2 separate regions of the Homo sapiens genome follow, and region 2 is linked to region 1. Evidence: promoter capture Hi-C in 16 types of primary human blood cells and fetal thymus (Javierre and others, 2016). All regions are on one chromosome and are shown on one strand. Each heading gives the region's core, a stretch centred on a gene start or on the middle of the fragment in contact. The rest is flanking DNA. Distances are from core to core; before and after follow the strand shown. Region 1 holds the start of L3HYPDH (trans-L-3-hydroxyproline dehydratase). Region 2 holds the start of ACTR10 (actin related protein 10).

Region 1 (6,686 bases), core at 1,469-3,968:
CAAGACAGATTTTAAAATGCTTTAAAATACACTAAGCACTATTCTAGAAAATTGAAACATATCTCCTTAAACTACAAAAAATTTTAAGGATGAGAGGGAAGCAATATGATAGGCCAGGGTTCCAACCCTAGTTCTGCCATTAGTGTGGCTTTGGTGTCTTGTGCAAACTGTAACTGCTATTTCTCCTAAAAGAGTTGTTTTGAAAATTCCACGTATGGGGAGTTCCTGGCACAGATTAGGGACTCGAAAGCCAAAACTTTAATTTCCAGTGGCAATAGGTTTCTCAAGAGGACCAGATGTTTACATTTGTCAATCAGCATATTCTTCTCCAAATTTCATTTATTTAGTTACTCATTCAACAAACATTCATTGACTGACTACTCTTCTAGGCACTTAGAATACTGTGAACAAGAAAGAGTTTGCATTTTAGCCTGGTGGGGTGGAGATGAACTCAGCAACCCTCTGAGGTGGGTACTGTTGTCATCCTCATTTTGCAGACTGTGATACTGAGGCATGGACTCTCTAGCACAAGGTCACTGAGATGGGGAGAGGTGGGGCAGTGACCTTGAACACTATGTCTGCCTTGTATGCATTTTTCAAAGTAGAGAATATAGCATTTCATTTTCTTAACTCAGTGACCATTAATGCCCACTAATCATTGTACTGTCATACAGTGATGCTCTCAGGAACTACTGAGAGGAACTACTGAGGTCAAGTGGTTGACTGACCCTGCCCTAACTGACCCAGAAATGAGATGTAGTTTGTGTTCCTGCTGCCAGCTGCCATTTCCTACAGAAGTCTAGAGTGTTTCTACTCTGCTGCTGGAGTTGCCTAGGGGGAATTCTGGTAGCCACGCTAGTTAAACTGTTGAGGTTTTAAAAATGGAATCGTAAACATAAATTCTGTCTCCCTCAAGTGGCCTCCCAGTCTGGAAGTGACACCATTCTCTGGGAAAATGGCATCAATTTCTCCAGAGGCATTCTTCGTTAACTCGTGGATTTCAGCTGCCTAAGGTTGCTCTAAAAGTGCCTGTTCTATCAGTTATCATTCATAATCAGGCTAATCTGAAACCTAGTTCTTCAGGGGGAATCAAGGTCCAACTTTCTAACAGATGATTTGCATGGCTTGAAGATTTTTAAGAAAAGGATAACTCTATTCCTGGTAAACTGGCTCCTGGCTCACTTCCAGTCACAATGACTAAAGCATTCTTACTGATAGAATTCAGCTCCTGGGAGGTAGTAGTCTGATGAGAAACCAGATGCCAGCTTGCCAGGTCATCCCTCCTGTAAGGGTTATGGTTATAGAGATGCCCTGCTTTACATGATAAGCTGTACAAGGATCTGTACTAGAGAATCCAGCAAAACCTTTTAATGGCTCAATAGGCCTAGGGAACTTTAGCGATCATATAAACCTTGCAATCTATCTCCAGGAATACAGTATCTTGCATACTCTCATTTAATCCTAACAAAAAAACTCTATGAGGGAAAAGAAGAAACACAGGCACAGAGAGATTAAGTAATTTGCCTAAGGTTGCACAGCTTTAGGGGGTTATCAGGATTTGAAACCAGGCAATGTGTGTTCCTGTTCTTAAAGAAAAGCAACATTCGTATCTTAATGATTTATAAACTGCTTTGTTCATTCATTCTCATTTAATTCTTCAAAGAAGTGGGGGAGGTGAGGAAAGGAGACCAGGTTTAGTAACTTATTAAGTGTGATTCTGTGTCTACCAAGCATATTCTCAGCCAGCCTGGAACCCTGGTACATTGGCTGTTCTTCGCTCTTTCCTTGACCCCACCGTACCTTGCTTTATCCACCGGTGAAATCTCTAGGAATGCCTCACCAGTGCAGAGGGAGGCGCTGAGTCAGGGTAACACGCAATTCCTCGCTCCTCAAGGGTCTCCCAAAACCACAGGCGGATGGGAGTCAGGGAAAATCGAAATTACACGCACCAAATACGCAAGGCTGCTGACACACGTTGGCAGTGATTTACCTTTCTATTAATTGCAAGGTTTCGCGGAGTAGGTTAGTTGCCAGAGTTCCAGCCCAGAAAAACCGTTAATGTAGTTAGTCGCGTCCCGGTTGCAGCTCTGCCCTGGGCTGGAAAGGTCCCGCCCATTACCTGTGGCCAGCACGAAGGCCGGGACGCTGTGGAAGCGCACCGGTCCGTGGCTGCGGCCGTCCTCGCATGCCACGAAGGCGGTCACCAGCCCGCAGGGGCAGTGGATATTGACGCGGGCCTCGCGGGTGCCCGCAGGGGGCGCCGGCACAAGCCCGAAGTCCAAAGCGAAGCGGCCCAGCGCCAGCACTGCGTGGCCGCACATGGAGCTGTAGCCCTCGTTGTGCAGGAACAGGACGCCCAGATGCGCGTCCGGCAGCTCGCTCGGGACTAGGACCGCCCCGTACATGTCCCGGTGCCCTCGGGGCTCGAACATGAGCCGTCGCCGCACGTGGTCAAGGTGCTGGCGCATGTAGCGCCGCTTGGCCAGCAGGGTGGGCCCAGACACCTCCGGACACCCCGCCAGCACGATACGCAAGGGCTCGCCGCCCGTGTGCATGTCCACCACCGACAGCACCGGCGTCCCTGGATCATGCGGGGGCAGCCGGGGCACCGCCAGCGCGCTCTCCATGGTCTGCGTCGGGGGAGACGAGTACGGTCCCGCAGCTATGGCTTCAAGCCCGACCCTCACCCACTGACTCCGCGGGAGGAGGGCGGGACGCTAACCAGCCACGTCCGGGGGGCGGGGTCTCGGAGCCTAAACCCGGAAGCGAGGGAGGAACTTCGGAGCTGTCGCCCGGGTTACCGGGAGGCGGAGCCGCCGAGCTCGCTGTGGCCCGGATGTTCGGTGCAGCTGCCAGATCCGCTGATCTAGTGCTTCTCGAAAAAAACCTTCAGGCGGCCCATGGGTGAGTGGTCGCCAAGATCCCGGGAAGCGTTTCTGGTAGTCCCGACTACTTTCCTACACGGCTGGCCTCGGGCTCGGCTCTTTGTAGGCGGCCTTCGGTTGGCGGCGCAGGCTCGCCCCTTGACCCCGCCCGCCCTCGGGCCGGGCTCCGCACTCCTGCGGGGTTGGGGTGGTCTGTCCGCAACGGGCTACTAGGGGAGGCGCGCTGTCTGCGGCGAAATGCCAGGTCTTTGTTGTTTGGTCCGAAATGTCTCTTCAGTCCCTTAGTTTAATGTCGAGGGAACACTTGCTTGAGGGTTGACTTCGGAATTGAAAACGCGGGTGATAGTGCAGAAAAAACAGTAAAGCAGAAGCAAGTTGCTGCATAATTTGTCTACTGCTTCAACCTCAAACGTAGATTTATAGCGCCCGTCACAAAGGGCAGGACCGCTGCAAAAAAATGGAATCTTAAAACTTTAGCCATCGTTCGCTAAAGGAAATGAAAGGAGAAATTCAACAGTCGCTTGGAGCCTGGGTTTTGCTTAGTAAGTGATAGGCTGTTTATTTCAGTTCAGTTTATCATACTGGTTTTCAGGCCTTGGATTTTGAGAAACTTTAGATTATTGATATTCACGTGTATTTATTAAGCATCTACTAGATGTAAAGCCCATACAGAAGTTTCCAATTCCTTACCTTCTGCATTCTTGAAAAACCTGAAATATTCATTTTCATGTATTAATTTAGAACATTGTGATTACAATTGGTTACAAAAAAAATAAGCGCCCATTAAAGAGGCCAGTGGGTTTAAAAAGCTAAGTCCGAAATTTGTTAAAAGCGAAAATATTAAACTGGAGGAATATTATTCAATGCTGTTTCTCTTTTTCTCTCAGCAGCATAAGGAGAAGGAAGTAAAAAGTCTGCTTGAATGTGAAAGGAGAGAAGGCACTGTAGACCAGGCAGTCTAGATTGTGAATTCGTGAATAATTTGGGAAATGATTGTTCAAGAATAGTCAAAAGATGCATAATTTTTCAAATTAATTCACATGTAGACCGCAGTTTGTTTTGAGACGGAGTCTCCTTCTGTAGCCCAGGCTGGAGTGCAGTGGCGCGATCTCGGCTCACTGCAACCTCTGCCTCCTGGGTTCAAGCGATTCTCCTGCCTCAGCCTCCCCAGTAGCTGGGACTACAGGCGCGCGCCACCACGTCAGGCTAATTTTTGTATTTTTAGTAGAGACGGGGTTTCACCATTTTGGCCAGGCTGGTCTGGAACTCCTGACCTCATGATCTGCCCACCTCGACCTCCCAAAGTGCTGGGATTACAGGCGTGAGCCACCTCACCGAGCCTGTTTGTTTGTTTTAATCAATGAATGAATGAAGGGAATCAGATGTCACTGATGAAGAAAACTTCCATAATTTCTTGTGAATAAGGTCAAAGACAACGTATTAGGTTCTTAGTTGTTGGGGTTTTTTTAAGTAAGGAATAGCTGCTTTTCCCCTAAGCCTTTAGATCAGGGGCTTAATTTTAATGCAGTGGTTTCTAAAATATTGGCCCAGTGACAGCCTTGATGAAATTTTCACTTATCCTCCACAAAAATGATAAAAGCTAGGACAATGTAGGAAACTTTTTATAAAGGTAATTTGCATACCTCTGTTATGAAATTATGTTCTCTCTGCTTTTCCCATGTGAAAATGTGTTCTGTTATGAACATAGGTGATAATGATAATTGTGTGTCTACATGTGGGTGCTTAATGTCCTGACTGGGCAAAATACAAGGTGGTGACCCTCTACTGGTGCTCTAATTTAAAAATATATGTATATTTGAACTTTATAATCAGTTAAACTCAGAAGTATCCTCTAATCATACCGGGTTAGGCTTTGAGTCCTGGAGATAGATCCTGCTCTGCTGGTTGAGGACCTTAATCATAAGGCACGGTATTAACAGCAAGGTTCCAGGATAACTGTCTGCAGTGTCACAGTGTAAAAGGAGAAATGTAAATTTAAAAATGCTTCAAGACTTTTGTCTAATACATATTATTCAAAAATTTGAAACTGTTATTTTTGCCAAATGCTTCAGCTATTATTGCAATTATTTTTTATAATCACAAAAGATGTTACTATACTGGCATTTGTTTTTAAAAAGCTGTCGATATTCAACCAGCATGCCTTGGACTTTATTGTGGGAAGACCCTATTATTTAAAAATGGCTCAACTGAAATATATGGAGAATGTGGGGTAAGTCTTATGTTTGTATCTTATTTCATTTTGTAAAATCTATTTGCTTTTGAAATATTTTCACATACAACATTTTTTGTTATTATACTCATTAATTTATAAAAGAATATGGAGGACCAGGCGCAGTGGCTCATGCCTGTAATCCCAGCACTTTGGGAAGCCTAGGTGGGTAGATCACTTGAGGTCAGGAGTTCGAGACCAGCCTGACCAATATGGTGAAACCCCATCTCTGCTAAAAATAGAAAAAAATTAGCTGGGCATAGTTGTGTGCGCCTGTAGTCCCAGCTACTCGGGAGGCTGAGACAGGAGAATTGCTTGAACCTAGGAGGTGGAGGTTGCAGTGAGCCAAGATTGCACCACTGCATTCCAGCGTGGGCAACAGAGGGAGACTCTGTCTCAAAAAAAAAATAAAATAAGGAAATATAAAAGAATATGGAGGCATTAATATAGTCATTGTTCATGTTGGCATTTTGATGTCTATATTATTTTTTAAAACATTTAATAATTTTATAATAATTTCTAATTTATGATTTGGTACCGTGTCTTGTACAGTAAGTTGAACATCATGAATCCAGAACATTTATCTGCAGTTATTCTTATATAATGTTAATAACTAGGTTTTTCATTGAATGTTAGTCAACTATTTTAGTAACTTAGTAAAAGGAATCTTCTAAGAGCATTGTACAAATATAGCACATACAATATAGATTTCTTTTTATTTTACTTATGCCCTCTTTTTTATTTCTAAAAGCTGCACATGTAAACTTAAATATTTAAACTGAAATGGGATGTCTTATAGAATGATTTGGGGGGGTGTTAATGTTGTAAAATAATATCTGTACACAAAATATTGGTTTTATATATTATAGGTATGCCCAAGAGGACAGAGAACGAATGCACAGAAATATTGTCAGCCTTGCACAGAATCTCCTGAACTTTATGATTGGCTCTATCTTGGATTTATGGCAATGCTTCCTCTGGTTTTACATTGGTTCTTCATTGAATGGTACTCGGGGAAAAAGAGGTTAGCACATTTCTATGAACATATCTGGCTGGACTAATGTTGGAATAATTATCACTCAGAAGACCTTATTAAGTAATTATGCTTCTTCTGTTTTAAAAGTGGTAAACATGTTTTTCTTTATCTTCAGATTATTCTTAACTGTGACAAGAAAACTTAACAATAGGGCATGACTTAGTAATTTTTAAGGGAACTGTCCTTAGTCTGTTTTACTCTCAGTGATCTTGAAGGAATACTTTTACTTCTCAACTATAATCCTTATTGGTTTTCTACACAAAATTGGTTATGATTACAAGCTATTTATTGTTATGGAACACATTCTTTGTAATTTAATTTAATACTAATAATCTAGTATGATGTAGTTAAAAATGATATAGCTGTAACCTAATACAAAAACTCATATTAACATATTAAATCAGCACACATTTACTAAGCACTGCATTTTATGTTTGGAAGATCAGGGAAGGAGATATAAAAATAACTGACATGGCTTATAGTCATAATCTTGTGGAGAAAACAAGTGTGTACATAATTATAAATCAGTCTTAGA
Region 2 (6,686 bases), core at 3,045-5,544, 1.3 Mb before region 1:
AATGGGGAGATCACACCACTACACTCCAGCCTGGGTGACAGAGCAAAACTCTGTCTAGAAAAAAAAAAGATACAAAGAAAAAGACCTAAATTGAACTTCTAGAAGTTAAAGATACAATTTTGAGGTGAAAAATACACTGGATGGGATTAATAGCAGATTAAATGCTGCAAAAGAGAAGATCAATAGACATGAAGACAAAACAGTAGAAACTATACAAAAAGAAACACAGAGGAAAAAATATAAGTGAGAAAAAGAAAAAAGAACAAAGAGTCAGTGAGCTACGAGAAAGCTTTAAACCACCTAATAACATATGTACTTGGACTACCCAAAGGAGAAGAGTCAGTATAGAAAAATTACTTGAAGAAACAAAGGTCAAAATATTCCAAATTTGATGAAAACTATAAAACCACAGGTCCAAGTTCACTTAATCCCAAACAAAAGAAACATGAAGAATATAATGTCAAGGCACCTGAAAAGACATTCCCACCAGTGCCACAACAGTTACAAATGCCATGGCAACATCAGGAAGTTACCCTATGTAGTCTAAAAGGGGGAGAAACCCTCAGTTCCAGGAATTGCTCAACCCTTTCCCAGAAAATCCATGAATAATCCACCCCTTGTTTAGCATATAATCAAGAAGTAATGATAAGTATAAGCAGTTAAGCAGCTCACGCTGCTGCTCTGCCTATGAGTAGCCATTCTTTTATTCCTTTACTTTCTTAATAAACTTGTTTTCATTTTACTCTATGGACTTGCCCCGAACTATTTCTTGTGCGAGGTCTAAGAACACTTTTGGGGTCTGGATTGAGACCCCTTTCTAGTAACAATAACACTTAACTCATAAAGTTGCTGTGAGGAATAAATGGGATCATATATAGCAAGGAGAGCTAGCAAATAGAACTCAACAAATATTATCTCTAGCTGTATCTATGGGAGTGGAAGAGATTGGCAAAGGAGAGGGTGTACAATAAGAAAAGAGGTTCAAGAGCAGAACCATGGAGAACAACAACATTTAGGTTGTGTACTGGGTTGAATAGTGTCCTCCCCAAAATTCGTGTGAACAGAAATCTTAGAATGTGACTATATTTGGAATTAGATCCTTTGCAAATGTAATCAAGTTAAGATGAAGTCATACTGGGTTAAGATGGACCCTGAGCCAGTAACTGATATCCTCAGAAGAAGAGGGAGGCCGGGCACAGAGGCTCATGCCTGTAATCCCAGCACTTTGGGAGGCCGAGGCGGGCGGGTCACTTGAAGTCAGGAGTCGAGACCAGCCTGGCCAACATGGCAAAATCCCATCTCTACTAAAAATACAAAAAATTAGCCAGGCATGGTGGCAGGTGCCTGTAATCCCAGCTACTTGGGAGGCTGAGGCAGGAGAATTGCTTGAACCTAGGTGGCAGAGGTTGCAGTGAGCTGAGATCGCGCCACTGCACTCCAGCCTGGGCGACAAGAGTGAAACTCCGTCTCAAAAAAAATAAAAATAAAAATAAACAAGAAGAGGGAAATTTGTTCAGCCGAATACAGAAAAAATAAAAAAGAAAACAATTAAGAAAAAAGGAGGGAAATCTGGACACAGAGACACACACAGAAGGAAAGTGATGTGAAGACACAGGGAGGAGTACATAATGTGAAAAATGCAGACACAGCGAAGAAGGCCAAGTGATGACAGAGGCAGAGATTGGAGTTATGTATCTACAAGCAAAGGCACATCAAAGATTGCCAGCAACCACCAGAAGCTAGGAAAAGGCAAGAAAGAAGGCCAGGCACGGTGGCTCATGCCTGTTATCTCAGCACTTTGGGAGGCTTAGGAAGGCGGATCACCGGAGCTCAGTAGTTTAAGACCAGCCTGGGCAACACGGTGAAACCCATCTCTACAAAAGATGTTAAAATTAGCCACGCAAGGTGGCACATGCCTGCAGTCCCAGCTACTTGGGAAGGTGAGGCAGGAGAATTGCTTGAGCCCAGTCTGGGGTTCAGTGAGCCAAGGTTGCACCACTGCACTCCAGCCTGGATGACAGAACGAGACTCTGTTAAAAAAAAAAAAAAAAAAAAAAAAAGCTGGGCGCGGTGTAATCCCAGCACTTCGAGAGGCCAAGGCAGGCAGATCACCTGAGGTTAGGAGTTCGAGACCAGCCTGGCCAACATGGTGAAACCCTATCTTTACTAAAAATCCAAAACAAACAAAAAAAAATAGTTGGGCGTGGTGGCAGGTGCCTGTAATCCCGGCTGCTCCAGAGGCTGAGGCAGAAGAATCACTTGAACCTGGTGGGGCGGAGGCTGCAGTGAGCTGAGATCGAACCTGGGTGACAGAGCGAGACTCCATCTCAAAAAAAGAAAAAAAAAAAAAGACAAGAAAGGATCCTCCTCAAGAGCCTTCAAAGAGGGCATGACCTTGCTCTTGCTGACACCTTGATTTCTGACTTCTCACCTCCAGAAGTGTGAAAGAATAAATTTTTTGTTTCCTTGAACCACCGTTTGTGGTACTTTGTTACGGCAGTCCCTAGCTAACAAATACAGCTGGTGAGCTGTCATGGAAAACATAGAATAGGTAATAACAAACTTCATCATTTCAATAGTTTCAGAAACATAATTTCAAATTGATCCTTACAAATACCTTGTGAAGCAGCAGAACAGTTTACAGATAAGGAAGTGGACGATCAGAGGTATTAGGGACTTGACAGAAAGTGGCAGAAACAGAATCTGAACTCAAGTAAGGGGTCCTATTCAAATAATCTGACTCTATTAAGCAAAAAATTTAATCTCTTCCCACGTTTCTTAAAGTTTTCTTCCCCGTCACAACTCCAACTTCATTCTCCTGTCTCCAGGAATTTGCTTTCAAGGAGGATCATTGATCAGTAATTTGGACTTAAACATGAATTTTACTAATATCACATTCCAAATTTCTGCATTGTTACAGCCTTAGTTTTTGTTATGGAAATAGCTTATCCCCAACTACCCCGCTAACTCTAGTTACCAACCATTAGAGTAGGGCCTTTTTTTTTTTTTTTTTTTTTTTTGAGAGACAGGCTCTCACTCTTGTTGTTGCCCAGGCTGGAGTGCAGCGGCACAATCCCGACTCACTGCCGCTTTAGACTTCTTGGGCTCAAGGGATCCTCCCGCTTCGGCCTCCCAAAGTGCTGGGATTACAGGTGTGATCCTGCGCTCGGACAGTTGGGACATCTTAATACAGTATAACCTCATCTTAACTTGATTACATCTGCCAAGACTCTATTTCCAAATAGGGTCACATTCTGAGGTTCCCAGTGGACAAGAATTTTGGGGGGGGGGGCATCATTCAACCCAGTACACCAGCTAAATGTTGCTAGTCCTCACCGATTTACCCTTGAACCTCTTTTCTTATTGCACAGCCTCTCCTTTGACAGTCTTTTCCACTCCTATGCATAGATACAGTTAGAGCTAATATTTGCAGGAAAAAAATATTTTCACAGAAAGCTGTGAAGTGACAAAGATGTAAACAGTAATGTAAATGTTAAAAGTAGTGGCAAAAACAGCAATTACTTTTGCACCAACCTAATAGGGGCCTTTGCTTCAATGTTTCTTCTATTAAACCATCCCGACCGCTCCTCTATGGACAGATTCAAGATTCACAGACGCTACTCTAGCTGCTTAATTCTGGAGTAAAATAAAAACTTTCAGAAAGACTACTAACTAAAGTATTGTCTGTACGTATTATTCTCTAAAGCATCATTAGCATAGGCTTTGCAATTAGGAAGTCTGTGGGTTTGTTCCTGGCTCTGCCGTGGGACATTGGGAAAGTTAATCTCTCTGAGCGTCGGTCCCCACAGATAAGAAAACACATATTCTTGTTATTTCTTGAGAAGATTAAATATTAGGCAAAACGCCTAGCACAGAATAGGGTCTCAGCATCTTCTGCCCCCCAAGAGCATGAATCAAAGGTTCGGAATTGCGTCGTCTCTCGGCTGCCCCTTGGCAGCCAGGTCCTCAGTGACCTCTTCACAGTGAGCTGAGACCGAACCTCTTCACAGCCGCGCGTGGGTGCGGCTTTGGGGCGTGGTGGGAGGGAAGGATAGGGAGGCCGGCTCCGCCCCCTCAGGGCGACCGGCGCGCCTGATCGCCGCGGCCTCCGCGCCCCCGCACTCGGATTCGCGCCCGCCAGCGCCTCTTTTCCCCTAGTCCTGGCGACGGCAGCACCTGCAAGGGTGGGTCCAACGCGGAATGAGGCACAGCCTGGGACAGCCCGGGCCCGGCGCGCCGCGGCCGCGCGAGGCCCCCGCCGTCGCCGACGCCCGAGCGCCGGAGCCCCGGCCCCGCCCCGCGAGCGCCGAGACTTGTTGGCCGCGGAGACTGCGACCCTCTTCTCTCAGTCTGCCTTACTACCATGCCGCTCTACGAGGGCCTGGGGAGCGGCGGGGAGAAGACGGCGGTCGTGATCGACCTGGGAGAGGCCTTTACCAAGTGAGTGGCCGTGACGCCAGCTGTGTTCGACCCGAGGGGAGGGCGGGTGGCAGAGCCCCAGGCACTGCCTGGGTCCTCATCGCCGACTCGCTGGGCAGCTCCGGGCCTCCCCTTTTCTTCAACCAGCGCCCTTGCAAATAACAGCTCTTATTATTTCCTCCCTGGGCGATGCGAATCCGAGGATCGGGGTCTGACTCCCAGAGAGGCCCAGAAAGCTTCTGTTGAATTGCCCTCGTCGCCGCCCCTTGTCATCACCCCAAACCCAACAAACCCTTTGGGATCATCTGTGTAGGGGATGACAACCGTGACCTAGACCCCGCTTACCCTGGGCTCCTCAGTTGAGGAAGGCAGCCAACCGAATGTAAATGCTCGATGACGAATTTCATCATAAAATATTGAACGGAGTTTATTTTGGTGCTGAAAATGGAAAGATGTTTAAGACAGGGCTATCGCTGCTCAAGAATTAGGGAGACTGGGCACATTAAGAGGTGAAACCCTATAGATAAGATTCTGGAAATCCTTTGTTGGCTCCCCTAAACTCGAAGGTTAGATTTGACATGTTTTAAACAAACCAACTTGTAAACAATAGAGAGGAGGTTCTCAACCTTTCGGATGGCATAGATCTCTTTAATGGCTGGATGAAAACCACAAATGCACAAATCTTAAGGTACTTATACACAGTTTCAGGGAATTGGCAGACAATCAATGTGGTCCTGGGACCCTAGATTAAGAGTCCTTGTGATGGGCTCAACAGAGAGGGAAGTAACAGGCAATTACATCATATATGTATTTATGAAAATGAAACATTTGAAAAATCTTTTTATATCTCTAGGCACTTCCTGACGTGTAGTAGGTATTTAATAACTATTTATTGACTAAGTGGTTAAAAGAGCCTATTTAAAAATTGGACCCCAGGAACTCCAGAATTGGATTAAACATAGTCCTTGGTTAATGACATTCTCTTATTGTTCTATGCGAGGCCCTTCCTTATTTATATTTTCTTATTAAAATTATTTTGAAAGCGTAATAAACAGTTCGAGGCTTCTAGTCAAAGATAATTATTTTGGCTGTACTTGGAAGAAATAAGCAAAAAGCTATATTTGAAAAAGACAGCAGGAGGATGATAAGATAAATGTATGAAGTAAAAAAAAGGAATTGAAGTCTAATGGCTTGCATTCTGAGATGTTTGAGGAGCACTGATGCAAGTAAACATGGAGACGGGAATAGGAGGAGATGGAGAGAATTATTTGGGAATACGAGGAGAGCAGTATCAAAAACTAGACAGGACAAGAAGACAGGATGTTAAGACTAAACTAGTATGATGATCATTTTTAGCAACGTTTTTAGCAAATTTTTGTTTTACTAACATGAAACAAAAATGGAAATACCTAAATACTCAAGAAAAGAGCATCGTTTTTAAAATAATGAAATATGTGGTTTTAAAAATAATACTGTAATTCCAGCAGTTTGGAAAGCTGAGGCGGGCTGACCACTTGAGCCCAGTAGTTCAAGACCAGCCTGGGCAACATGGGGAAACCCAGCTCTACACAAAATACAAAATTTAGCCGGCGGTAGTGTCGTGCCCGAAATCCTAGCACTTTGGGAGGCCAAGGGGGGAGGATCGCTTGAGCCTGGGAAGCGGAGGCTGCAGTGATCTGAGTTTGTGCCACTGCACTCCAGCCTGGGCGACAGAGCGAGACCCTGCCTCAAAAAAAAAAAAAAAAAAAGTGATAGCAATGAAGATTATGTTAATATGGGCAGAAGCTTACTGTATGAGTTAATTATGTATGAAGTGTGATTAAAACTATGTCAAATATATATGCATAATCATAAGAAGTAGACTGAAAGTGAATACACCAATATGGAAGCTAACAATATTAGAATGATGGAATTATGAGTGATACAGATGAATTATATGAATGAAGTCACATAATGTAGTACAGATTCAGAGTTGTAGATATGTCTTGCCTAAATTCTGCTAAAATTAACAACTAGGAAAAAAGTTGGCCAGGCGCGGTGGCCCACGCCTGTAATACCAGCACTTTGGGAGGCCGACGCGGGCGGGTCACGAGGTCAGGAGATCGAGACTATCCTGGCTAACACGGTGAAACCTCGTCTCTACTAAAAAAAAAAAAAAAAATTAGCCCTGCGTGGTGGCCGGCACCTGTAGTCCCAGCTACTCAGGAGCCTGAGGCAGGAGAATGGCGTGAACCCGGGAGGCGGAGCTTGCAGTGAGCCGAGATCGC

Evidence for each region. The method cuts DNA at HindIII sites, captures the fragments that hold promoters and counts their contacts. A CHiCAGO score of 5 or more calls a contact.
Region 2: a contact is called between the fragment with the promoter of ACTR10 here and the fragment with the promoter of L3HYPDH in region 1, in 5 of 17 cell types (naive CD4 T cells, total CD4 T cells, non-activated CD4 T cells and 2 more). The highest score is 7.5, in naive CD4 T cells.

The regions. Positions count from the first base shown.
Region 1 is chr14:59,481,690-59,488,375 of GRCh38, forward strand. L3HYPDH (trans-L-3-hydroxyproline dehydratase) reads right to left here and starts at 2,719. Exons shown (of 5, transcript NM_144581.2): 1 at 2,120-2,719. The coding sequence starts at 2,627. It overlaps JKAMP (JNK1/MAPK8 associated membrane protein), which reads left to right and starts at 2,828. Exons shown (of 7, transcript NM_016475.5): 1 at 2,828-2,904; 2 at 5,024-5,115; 3 at 5,985-6,139. The coding sequence starts at 2,901. It overlaps LOC124903326 (a long non-coding RNA gene), which reads left to right and starts at 6,146. Exons shown (of 2, transcript XR_007064196.1): 1 at 6,146-6,686. RefSeq lists an enhancer at 2,794-3,073. The HindIII fragment of the contact is 9,651 bases long and covers 1-6,686 here.
Region 2 is chr14:58,195,855-58,202,540 of GRCh38, forward strand. It overlaps ACTR10 (actin related protein 10), which reads left to right and starts at 4,295. Exons shown (of 13, transcript NM_018477.3): 1 at 4,295-4,440. The coding sequence starts at 4,364. RefSeq lists enhancers at 3,738-3,867, 4,488-4,677 and a silencer at 3,938-4,327. The HindIII fragment of the contact is 4,366 bases long and covers 288-4,653 here.